4 separate regions of the Homo sapiens genome follow, and regions 1, 2 and 4 are each linked to region 3. The links are contacts of gene promoters, found by promoter capture Hi-C in blood cells and fetal thymus (Javierre and others, 2016). All regions are on one chromosome and are shown on one strand. The core of a region is centred on a gene start or on the middle of the fragment in contact, and the rest is flanking DNA. Distances in the headings are between cores, read along the strand shown.

Evidence for each region. Contacts are between HindIII fragments. The CHiCAGO score rates a contact against its expected background, and 5 or more counts as called.
Region 1: a contact is called between a fragment that was not itself captured here and the fragment with the promoter of PSMD12 in region 3, in 2 of 17 cell types (total B cells and fetal thymus). The highest score is 7.3, in total B cells.
Region 2: a contact is called between the fragment with the promoter of PRKAR1A here and the fragment with the promoter of PSMD12 in region 3, in 1 of 17 cell types (total B cells). The highest score is 5.3, in total B cells.
Region 4: a contact is called between a fragment that was not itself captured here and the fragment with the promoter of PSMD12 in region 3, in 1 of 17 cell types (naive B cells). The highest score is 5.2, in naive B cells.

What each region holds. Positions count from the first base shown.
Region 1 is chr17:68,461,804-68,464,681 of GRCh38, forward strand. It overlaps a transcript of PRKAR1A not described here. Among named protein-coding and RNA genes, the nearest start is that of WIPI1, 5.7 kb to the left of the region's middle. The HindIII fragment of the contact is 1,470 bases long and covers 707-2,176 here.
Region 2 is chr17:68,511,142-68,513,841 of GRCh38, forward strand. It overlaps PRKAR1A (protein kinase cAMP-dependent type I regulatory subunit alpha), which reads left to right and starts at 1,289. Exons shown (of 11, transcript NM_002734.5): 1 at 1,289-1,407. RefSeq lists silencers at 470-829, 1,250-1,759 and enhancers at 763-1,336, 1,090-1,179. The HindIII fragment of the contact is 13,629 bases long and covers 1-2,700 here.
Region 3 is chr17:67,365,215-67,367,914 of GRCh38, forward strand. It overlaps PSMD12 (proteasome 26S subunit, non-ATPase 12), which reads right to left and starts at 1,363. Exons shown (of 11, transcript NM_002816.5): 1 at 1,198-1,363. The coding sequence starts at 1,305. RefSeq lists enhancers at 1,179-1,238, 1,259-1,568. The HindIII fragment of the contact is 3,672 bases long and covers 1-2,044 here.
Region 4 is chr17:68,486,793-68,489,492 of GRCh38, forward strand. It overlaps a transcript of PRKAR1A not described here. Among named protein-coding and RNA genes, the nearest start is that of PRKAR1A, 24 kb to the right of the region's middle. The HindIII fragment of the contact is 462 bases long and covers 1,172-1,633 here.

The DNA.
Region 1 (2,878 bases), core at 192-2,691, 1.1 Mb after region 3:
AGCCCTATGGTGCCAGGGTAGAAGAGGAGGGGTTGGGCTGTGGGGTGATTTCTGGGAAAGGAGATGATCGAACTGATTGGCAAGCAGGAAGCCCCAGCCAGAAGTCTGGCCGAGCAGCAGGTGCAACTGGGTTTTCTGTTTCTAATTATAGACAGTGTGTGTGAGATAGCATGGCTGCAGTGAATGAAGAGGCCCTATCATGTGCCCTTGTCCCCCAAATGGAACCATTATTTCTGGATTTATTGATTAAAAGGGGAGAGACAGGGAGCAAAAACTAACAACACTTCTAATATTCCTTGACTTATATATTCCTTCCCAAGAGTCAGGAAAAATGTTATTTCATGAAAGAGTGAATTGATGTCTTAATCTTCATTCTCTCCCCTCACCTGTCTTATTTTTGCCTCCAGAATAGCCTTCCTAAAACACCAAGGTGAATTACAGGTTCTCAATAAATGCTTGCTGATTGGCTGATGATCACGAAGACAGTTGCTTTCTACAAGTGCTTTTGCTAATGTCCTTGGAGCTGAGAGTCTGTTACCCATGCCAGTGCAGAGAGGTTCAATCAAGGTGTTTTTGTTCACCGAGGCATCTTCGCACTGGTCAAGAACACAGAGACGGGTTCAGCAGGTCAGCCAATCACCCTGCCTTAAATTTTAGAATATAATTATAGGCGATACTTGAAAATAGAAGACCAAGCTTTATAGAAAGCTTGGTTTGGAGCGTCATAGATCTTCTCATGTGACGCTAACCACATCTATCTGGTCTAGGAATGTTTATCCCCATCAGGCAGCTGCATATGCCAAAGTGGAGACTGTCGAGTAAGTTGCCAAAGGCCCTAGGACAGTTTTTGATGCAGGTGTAGTTTGTATTCTGTCCCTTCCACTGGGTGCCCAGGTTGCCTGTCACGCTGTCTCTTGGACTGCTTTGGCTCAAGGCTGGAAATAGAATTGGCATCTTAACCTGTGCTTCATCCTATGAAGGGACAGAGGAGCAAGGGGTGAAGAGATAGAGGCAGAATTGTGCCAAGAGGGCCACGGGCCAAGTACAAGGGGGAGAGTGTGGAGTCCTGCAGCTCTTCAAAGGGCACCAGCACTTTGCCTACATTTACCAAGGGTACATCTAGAAATATTCAAAAACGTCCTTTGCTCCCAAGCAGAGAGTTAGCCTGTGCTCCTGGCTGGGCATGGCTTGTTGGAACGTGCTGTACGACTTTAGGTTTCTTTCTAGTCTAGCGGTGGTGCAGGGAGTGGTAATCATTCTCTAGAATCAGTCACCCCTGGGAAGAAGGTGGATTCAAAGGCTTTGGGCTTAGGGTGAGAGGGGCGTGGCTAAGAATCCCGAGATTCTTGGTGAACAGTGCCATCTAGTGGTCTGTATGATTTAGTTCTAGGATGGTTGGGGGGACACCTCAGGAAAAACTGGCTTGAGTGATAAGATATGGGTAGCCAGTCCTAAAGCCCCAAAAGAAAGTCTCTGAGGCTCCCTTGTGTATTTTTCCAAAACCTCTTTACTGTCTATAAATGGAAAACACAGAAGCCTCCCTCACCACTTCCTCTGAAGGAGGAGAAGTTTGGAAGGAGTTTGTATATTCATTCATTCATCCATTCATTCATTTGACCAATTTTTATCATGTGCCTGTTGTGTGCCGGTCATGGCTCCAGGTTCTAGGGATATGACGCTGTCCAAAATAAATAAAAACCCCTGCCCACCTGGGCAGAGAGACCATTAACAAGAAAAATGAGATGTATAGTATCTTAGATGGTGATAAGTGCTAAGAAATGTATAGCAGTGAAAGTGTGTTTGGGAGTGTGGGGTGTAGGGAGGAGAAATTTTGCATAGGGTGGGCAGGGAAGGCCCCACTGAAAATTTCCATTTGAACAAGACCTCAGGAAGAAAAGGGAGCAGGTTATGCAGTCATATGGGAAAAAGCTCAAAGAGCAGCGAGGAGGCAGGGCCGCTGGAGTGGGGAGAAGAGTGGGGAGAACTACAGGCAAAGAGGTCAGAGTGACCTGAGAAATCACTGGAAGTTCTGACTTACACTGGAATTCGACACAGACAGCTGTGTTGAAAAGAAATTGAAGGTGTCTTGGGAGATTCACAATTCACTTTAGCACGTTCAAGTCTCCAGAAAGCCCAGCATTATGTTTATTTAACATTGTTTCCCAAGTACTTTCCAAGCTTATTTAAAGATAGATTCCCTTTCTTCCAGGAACACCCACTACTTCATGTGGGAACCTGAGAAAATGGAAATCAGCTCAGATGAGCAGACTGGAATGTTCCCAACAGTCATAAACAAGGCCAGCACAAGGCCAGGTGAAAACTGTGTTTAACCCAAGGCCACACTGTAGCTGCAAAATTACTGACATTGGCATATCTAATCCTTTCTTATCAAAGCCTCTCCCAGACCCACTCGATTTCTCCACTTGCTGAACAAAAATTTCTGAGATATCCGATGATGAAACCACCTGCTTCACAACACATCCATTCCTGACCTGATTCCTGTTTCTTCTACCTTTCCCTTCCTAGCATAACTTAACACAAACCTGGCAAAAAGCCCTTTCCCACAGCCTCTTACTGAGATGCCTCATGGTTCACTTGATGTGCACACCCTCTTGCTGCAGGAAGTTAATAAAACTGACATTGCCGAGGCGGATGGATCGTGAGGTCAGGAGTTCGAGACCAGCCTGGCCAACACGGTGAAACCCCGTCTCTACTAAAAATACAAAAATTAGCTGGGTGTGGTGGCACGTGCCTGTAGTCCCAGTTACTTGGGAGGCTGAGGCAGGAGAATCGCTTGAACCCGGGAGGTGGAGGTTGCAGTGAGCCGAGATCGTGCCGCCGCACACTGTACTCCTGCCTGGGCGACAAAGCGAGACTC
Region 2 (2,700 bases), core at 39-2,538, 1.1 Mb after region 3:
ATATACAATGTTACTACAACAGCTCCTGGACACTTGCATATGTGTGTATTTTGCTTTTTTGTATTGTGTTGAATCCATTATGAATTTTAAGCACACGGCCCTAGAAATATATACAATGCTACTAAAGCAGCCCCTAGCCAGACACTTGGACATGTTTCCTTGATGGGCCTTCTTTATTGAGTTACAGACTTGATGTGTCTAAAATTGTACCGTCTCCCTTTTCTTCCTCCTTAGACAGATACTCTGATGGAAAAAAAAAATGGCTGAAAGAGTAAAGTCGCTTTTCCTCCGAATTTTCCCCATTAGTGCAGCTTGTCTGGACAGCTGCGATTTCTTGTTGGGTCACAGGGCATTTTTGACAATCTGCACGCTCTGCACTTCTCCCTCTGTGAGGTCAGGAGTGATGGGGGGGCACTTCAGGTTCTAGAAGGACTCAGGCCTCCTCTTGGACCCTGACAAAGTCCTTTCCCGTGCCTGGTTTCCACAGGGACGGTGTTGCCTGCACAGACGACAGCACCCCCGGCGGGGGAGAGCGGCCCCAGCGGAGACTCGGCAGGGCTCAGGTTTCCTGGACCGGATGACTGACCTGAGCCCGGGGCCCGGGCGGCGCTGGCCGGGCACAGGATGCGCGGCCCGGAGAGCGCATCCCGGCCATCCGCCCGCGCTCGGCCCCGCAGCGCAGCTGCTGCAGATCCGCGGGGGCCGCCACCTCCTCCGGGGGCTGGCAGCGACAGGACTCTCCCCGCCCCGGCCCGGGGCCCTCCCTTGCAGGGGCTGCGGGGAGGAGTCGCCCACCTGTCATCTGAGACGCCCCACGTGGGTCGGCCAGGGAGGGGGTGGAAAGGAGGGAGAAAAGGCAGAGGCGTCAAGGGAGGCCGGAGGGAGAGTGGGGTGGACAGAGGAGCGGAGGGACGAGAGGGAAGCGCACGATAGCTGCGCGGAGAGAGAGCGAAGAGCAGGCGGAGGAACAAAGGCGACCCAAGACACCCAGAGAGGGACAGGTAAGGAGGGGCAGGTGAGCAGGAAGGAGGAGAGAACCGGGCTAGGGAGACTGCGGAAAGGAGAAGTGGCGGGCGTGAGGAAACTGCTGTGGATAAGGGACGAGTAAGATGGAAAGAATGGCGGAAGACGAACGACCGCAGAGTGAGGGTCCTTCCAAGAGCGACCAGGGGGGAGGAACTGGGGCTGTTGCGCCCTTAAGGTTGCTAAGGCGACGGTTCTGGCCAGAGCGAGGCGCATTGACGTCAGTAGCCGAACGCTGATTGGCTGCGGCCAGGCCGTTTCCGGTGGAGCTGTCGCCTAGCCGCTATCGCAGAGTGGAGCGGGGCTGGGAGCAAAGCGCTGAGGGAGCTCGGTACGCCGCCGCCTCGCACCCGCAGCCTCGCGCCCGCCGCCGCCCGTCCCCAGGTGAGTGGGGTCGGCCGGGGGCTCAGGCGAGGTGAGCTTCGTCGCTTCGCAGCCGGTTTGCGGGAGCTGGACCGATCCAAGATGGCGTCACGGGGAGCGACCTGCAGGGGGACGGCCGCACCCCCTGCCCCTCCCCGGCCCGGCGGGCGCCTCCCCGCAGGCCTCACGCCCCCGGCTCCGAGTCTGCATCCTCAAGGCCGTCTGGGCGTTGGCTTTGGTGCGGGGCTCCCCAGCCGCCCCGCTCGCGCTCGCTGCCCCCACCCCACGGCTCCTGGGGCCCTGGGCCCTCCGCGGCCCTCCCCGGCCGCCTTCGCCCCCGCGCGCCGCGGCCTCTTCGCTCACCCTCCCCCATTTCCTGAAGGACAACGGCTCTATTTTACTGGGGTCCGCCATCGTCTCGTCCGCCGGTCCTGGCTCTTCTTGTAAGCCGGTAGTTTTCCTCTCCACTTTTGACGACTCGTCATTGCTAGCAGTAGCCTTTCCTCTTCATAGCGGAGTGATCTTTCCCCCAACACGACGGTCTTAGTCGGGCTCCTGAATTTCCTCTTGTCCCCTTTCACCTCTCTCCCTTTCCCAATTTTGCCCCCCTGAGGCCTCCTCGCCACCACTGTGGCCTTCCGACTGGCGTAGCTTGAAGTCTCGGCTTCCCTTCATTTTGTGGTCATGACCGTGGCCTACGTGAAGTGAAGGGCATTTTCCTGCCCTTCTTCTAGAAAATACACGGTACCTATTAACCTCTTCAGCTCAGAGCCTGTGGTGACGACCGTCCTACTCCTTGAGAGATTCCCAAGAGATCCGTCTTTTTAGCAGAGCGAGGAAAGCAAACACTTACTCAAGATGACCCTAGGGGAGCCGTAACTTGGCTGGTCTAAGGGGGTGCGGTCTGAATCAGGAACAGTTTCTCAAAGTGTTTTTATTTATTTCCCAGAATGTAATCCTTTCGAAACAATTTTGTCACAACTGAATTTTCAAAAGAATGAATCTGAGTGTTTTGTTTTACATAGAGACAATGCAGCGAAAGTTTTAAAGCAGTTAAATAATTGTGTGTGGGGAGGGAAGGCTAGGTTGTTGGGCTTTACAAATAAGTACACATAGAGAATCCGGGTAACTCGATTAAAAATATTAAGACTGTGAAGTCTGGTTATTCAGGGATTTACATGGTGACTGCATTAATTTTGGTACATTTCTGTTCGTATACTGTCCTATTACCGGTGGCTATCTTTTTGGTTTTCGTAATACATTAGTTGTTTCAAACAAAAACACAGTTTCACTCCTTAGGCCCAGTTCTCTCAT
Region 3 (2,700 bases), core at 113-2,612:
CACTACAATAGGCTTCTAGGCAGGACAGCATGGTGTGTGAGGGCACCAGCTCCAGAATCTAGAATCGGTCTGCCTGGGTTTGCTTCTTGGCTTCACCACTTTACTAGCTGTATGATCTTGGGGCATGTGATTCAACTTTTTCTAGCCCAAGTTTTCTTACCTGTAAAATAAGGATAATAGTAATAGCCATCGCATAGGGCTGAGGTGAGGATCAAATGGCTTAGTGCATGTAAGCACGGTGCCTGACACTGCAGAAACTACTCAACAAATATCAGTTATTGTTATCTGTCTGGCATTGGAGGCGGCTGAGTTTTCCCACCCTTATGTAACTGATGTTTGTTGATGCTAGCTGCTAGAAAGCTCTTAATGAATTTGTGGCTCCCCCTCAGCAAGCATACTGAACCTAAGATATACATACGTACCAACTTTATCACCTTTCTCCATCCTTGTTTCTTGGAAAGCCCGTTAAACTCTTATAGTGCCTACTTGTCTTTACTTCTGTAGTTCCGTCTTCAGTAATGACTCCACCCCACCTCAATCTTACTAATTCCTCAAGACCCAATACAAACGTCAGCCTTCCTGTAAAACCTTCCCTTATGGCACCATTAAGAATGCATAGCTTCCTTCTCGGTGTTCCAGTAACACTTTCCCCTTGTATGGCCCTCACCACCATGCATGACTTGACTAATTCATCACGTACATCAACTCCTAAAGGACAGGGTCCTGTGTTAGTCATCTTCGTACTATCACTTTCCTGCCCCTTCTCCTGGCCAAAGACCAGGCACATAGCCATGATCCACAAACGATGTAACGACATAAATTGATTGAGCAACAGCAACAGAACGAAACTCTCTGATCTAGCCTTAATACTGAAGCGGCCTTAACCCCTGGGAAACTACTAAGGTAAATATCACTTAAACAGCATCCAAGAAACGGCAAAAAGTTAAACGGAGCCCTAAGTCCCACGGAGGGAAGTGACCATCTGTTTTGGGGAGGGTCTGGGAAGCTATAGGCGCTGGCGTACTCCGCAGCCCTGGCCGGGCCGACCTGGGGTCTCCCACTCGTGCAGGCCCAACTAGGGCTGGACAGGCATTGGGGGGTGCACGCTCCAGCCCGCAGGCCCCCTGAGGCCTAAGCAGGCTCCGCGCCGTGACTCAGCCCCTGGCGCCCGCCAACAGCCAGCCGGCCTCTCCTCACCTTGGCTAGCTTCGCACACTCGGGTAGGCGCTGATCCACCGTGGCGCTGTAGTCCACCTCCATCTTGACGATGCGCCCGTCAGCCCGCTCCGAGCCGCCGTCCGCCATGGTCCCCGCCTGAGCGTCCCTTGCTGTCCCCCTGCTTCGGCCACCACTCGTCACCCACACCGGAAGTTGCCCGCGCACCCGCTCAGGCAGCCCATCGGGAGCCCACGCAAAGGACCCCTCGAGGTCCCCGGCGCTGGTTGCCACTCAGGCACTGCCGCGGACAGCCTGGGGGTGGGGCTTGAGGCGCGCGGGGCGGGACTCGCCACTCCAGCCTGCAGCGTCAGGTTTTGTCTCTGGGAACATCAGACTTTTTACCTAAAATTTGCGATGAGAAAAGCGAGTGTAATAGAACAGACCATCTCATATATCCCTACACCCCTGCTTCGAAATATGATTTCTCAGGACCGTGGCCAGTCGCTTTTCTTGGATCTCGGTTTTCTCATCTCTACATCAGGAGGCTAAAATAAACCTTAAAATAGAAAATTCTAAGGTTTTATCTACTTGAGAATCTTGGTGGCTTACTCTGTGGGATCTCTGAAAGCTCCTAAGAGAAGATATGGCAGCAGCTCAGTCATTTAATAAGCAAAGTGGTTTTTCTCTTTGTTTTCATTTTCACTGTAATCCACTAAGTTGGTAAAAAGAAAAGTTAAAAAGACATATTTGTTATCCCTATAGGATTTTCGTGAGCATCAAACTAGATGACATGTGAGACAATTTCAATTCTTAAGGGCCTTACACGTTTTATGTGTTATCATTCATACCATGCTGGTCCCTAGAAAATAGCTTGAGATCTTAAAAAAGCTTAGGATCCTTGAAAATGGGAATGAGGCCGGGCGCGGTGGCTCACGCCTGTAATCCCAGCCCTTTGGGAGGCTGAGGCGGGCGGATCATGAGGTCAGGAGATCGAGACCATCGTGGCTAACACGGTGAAACCCCGTCTCTACTAAAAATACAAAAAATTAGCCGGGCGTGGTGGCGGGCACCTGTAGTCCCAACTACTCGGGAGGCTGAGGCAGGAGAATGGCGTGAACCCAGGAGGCGAAGCTTGCAGTGAGCCGGCGAGATTGCGCCACTGCACTCCAGCCTGGGCGACAGAGCAAGACTCCGTCTCAAAAAAAAAAAAAAAAAAGAAAAAGAAAAGTAAAGAAAATGGGAATGAGGTTGTGTTTGGTGTGGGCATATGGTCAACAGCAGCCTGGAAAGCAAACAGGAAAACGGGAAATCTTGGAGTGGTTTATCTATTATGTTAGTGGTTCTCAATTTAATTAGTGCCGACATCGCTTTATAGATGCTGAATAGATCTCTTTGTTTGTTTTAACTGCAATGAAAATCAGGGAAAATATAAACCATCTACAAGCAAAATAAGACAATATCTCAGCTATAATCTGTAATGTAGAGGAGAAACAAATTTTACCTTTTTTTTATTTTTGTAGAGATAGCAGCTATACTACGTAG
Region 4 (2,700 bases), core at 153-2,652, 1.1 Mb after region 3:
CTCATCTAATATGCCTGTGCCTCAGGTACCCAAGTGTTAATGGGTATACTAATGCTAGTTACCTCCCAAAGTCGATGTTGTGCGGATTTTTTTTTTTCTCAGATGATGTCTTGCTCTGTCACCTCAGCTGGAGTGCAGTGGCATGATCTCGGCTCACTGCAACCTCCGCCTCCCAGGTTCAAGCAATTCTCCCAACTCGGCCTCCCCAGTAGCTGGGATTACAGGTTTCTGCCACCGCACCCGGCTAATTTTTGTATTTTTAGTAGAGATGGGATTTCACCATGTTAGCCAGGCTGGTCTCGAACTCCTGACCTCGTGATCCGCCCGCCTCGGCCTCCCAAAGTGCAGGGATTACAGGCGTGAGCCACTGCGCCCGGCCTGTTATGTGAATTTAATAAGACATTCATGTACACACATTGCACAGTGCCTGGCACATAGGGAAATCTCAAAGTATGGTTTTGTTAATAAAAATCAGAAAAATGTAGATAACCAACATTATAATTCAACTGCTGGGAAATAAACTTTACCTCCAGGTACATTTTTACATTCTAGTGTTTTCAAATGAAGGCTACCAAGTTAATTAATCAATACTTACTTAGCCTAACACTATGGTATATATTGAGAGGCATATAGTTATAACTTAAGCCAACGTTTCCTGACTTTCTCCTGTGCTAATAATTTTTCTGTATTCATTCATTCATTATTGACTTATTGGAAAAGTGGTTTGGGGTCGGGCGCGGTGGTTCACCTATAATCCCTGCACTTTGGGGGGCCAAGGCGGGTGGATTGCTTGAGGTCTGGAGTTCAAGACCAGCCTGACCGACATCGTGAAACCCCATCTTTACTAAAAACACAAAAATTAGCCGGGACTGGTGGTGGGCACCTGTAATCCCAGCTATTCAGGAGGCTGAGGCAGGAGAATGGCTTGAAGCAGGAGGCGGAGGTTGCAGTGAGCTGAGATCACGCCACTGCACTCCAGCCTGGGCGACAGAGTAAGACCTCATCTCAGACAAAAAAAAAAAAGAAAAAAGAAAAAGGAAAGAAAAGTGGTTTTGTGGTTATTTTGCATTTTCTTTGTGCCAGATAGTGTTCTGGGTATCAGAGGCATAACAGTGAACAACAATAATAATGAAAAAAAACTCAAAAATAAATAAAAAAAATGCACTCATGAAGCTTACGTTTGTATGAAAGAGAGAGAGAGGGAATAAACAGACTAGAGAAATTCATGTAATACGTCAGATCGTGATAAATATGAAGCACAGGGGAGTAGGGGGGTGGCATGGGGAGAGTTGCAATTTGAAGATGGCCAGGTGGCTTTTGAGCACAGACCCAAGGAAGTGGGGCAGTGAGCCCTGAGGCTGTTTGGGGAGGTCTATGTTTCAGGTGGAGGGAACAGCCTGCCCTGAGATCGAGGTGGGCCTGGCTTATTTGAGCAACAGCCAGGATGTCTGTGGCTGGAGAAAGGTGGGAGCAGGAGAGAAGAGCTGAGGTCTGAGTCTGACAGTGGCCAGATCTAAGGAGCTTGCACGCCATTGCAAGGCTTCTCTGTCCCATATATACAACCTGATTGGCTTCTGGCCTGCTTTGACCTATGAAATGAGAGAGGAAGTGGCAAGTGTCCCTCTCAGGAAGAAGCTTTAAGAGCCAGCATGGGGCTGGGTGCAGTGGCTCATGCCTGTCATCGCAGCACTTTGGGAGGCCGAGGTGGGAGGATCACTTGAGGTCAGGAGTTCCAGACCAGCCTGACCAACATGGCAAAACCCCATCTCTACTAAAAATACAAAAAAAATTATCTGGATGATGTGGCTCAAGCTTGTAATCCCAGCTACTTGGGAGGCTGAGGCAGGAGAATTGCTTGAACTGGGAGGCAGAGGTTGCAGTGAGCTGAGATCATGCCACTGCACTCCAGCCAGGGCAACAGAGTGAGACTCCATCTCAAAACAAAAAAAAAAAAAAAAAAAAAGAGCCAGCGTGGGCTTCTCCATCATTCCTTTCCCTCTGCCACATGGTTCTATAAAGAGGTCACCTTTTAGACCTGAGCTCTGGAGTGAAGAAACTATGGAACTGGATGTCAGGCTCCCTGGTGGATATGGTGTGAGAAATAAGCTTTCAGAGGGCTCTTTCTCTATCCTGTGTCTGAATTGGGCTTGTCTTGAAGCTGTGTGTGTAAAGCACTTTACACAATTTTTAAAATATTTATTTTTTATTTTTTAAAAATTTGAAAAAAAATGCTCAGATTTTTCCTAAGGCTTGTCTGAATAAGTTTGGGCTATTTCTAAACCCCAGAGGTGGGGCTGACCAGATTGAAGTTATCGGTTAAAGATTTAGGTAGCTTTCCTAGGAGAAATAGGATAGAGGTTGGGTAAATACTAAGTGAGCACCCATCTTGGAAAGTATATATATATATATATATATATATATATATATATATATATATGGAAAGTATATATATATATATATATATATATGGAAAGTATATATATATATATATATATATGGAAAGTATATATATATATATGGAAAGTATATATATATATATATGGAAAGTATATATATATATATATATGGAAAGTATATATATATATGGAAAGTATATATATATATGGAAAGTATATATATATATATGGAAAGTATATATATATGGAAAGTATATATATATATAAATGGAAAAAATATATATATATGGAAAGTATATCTATA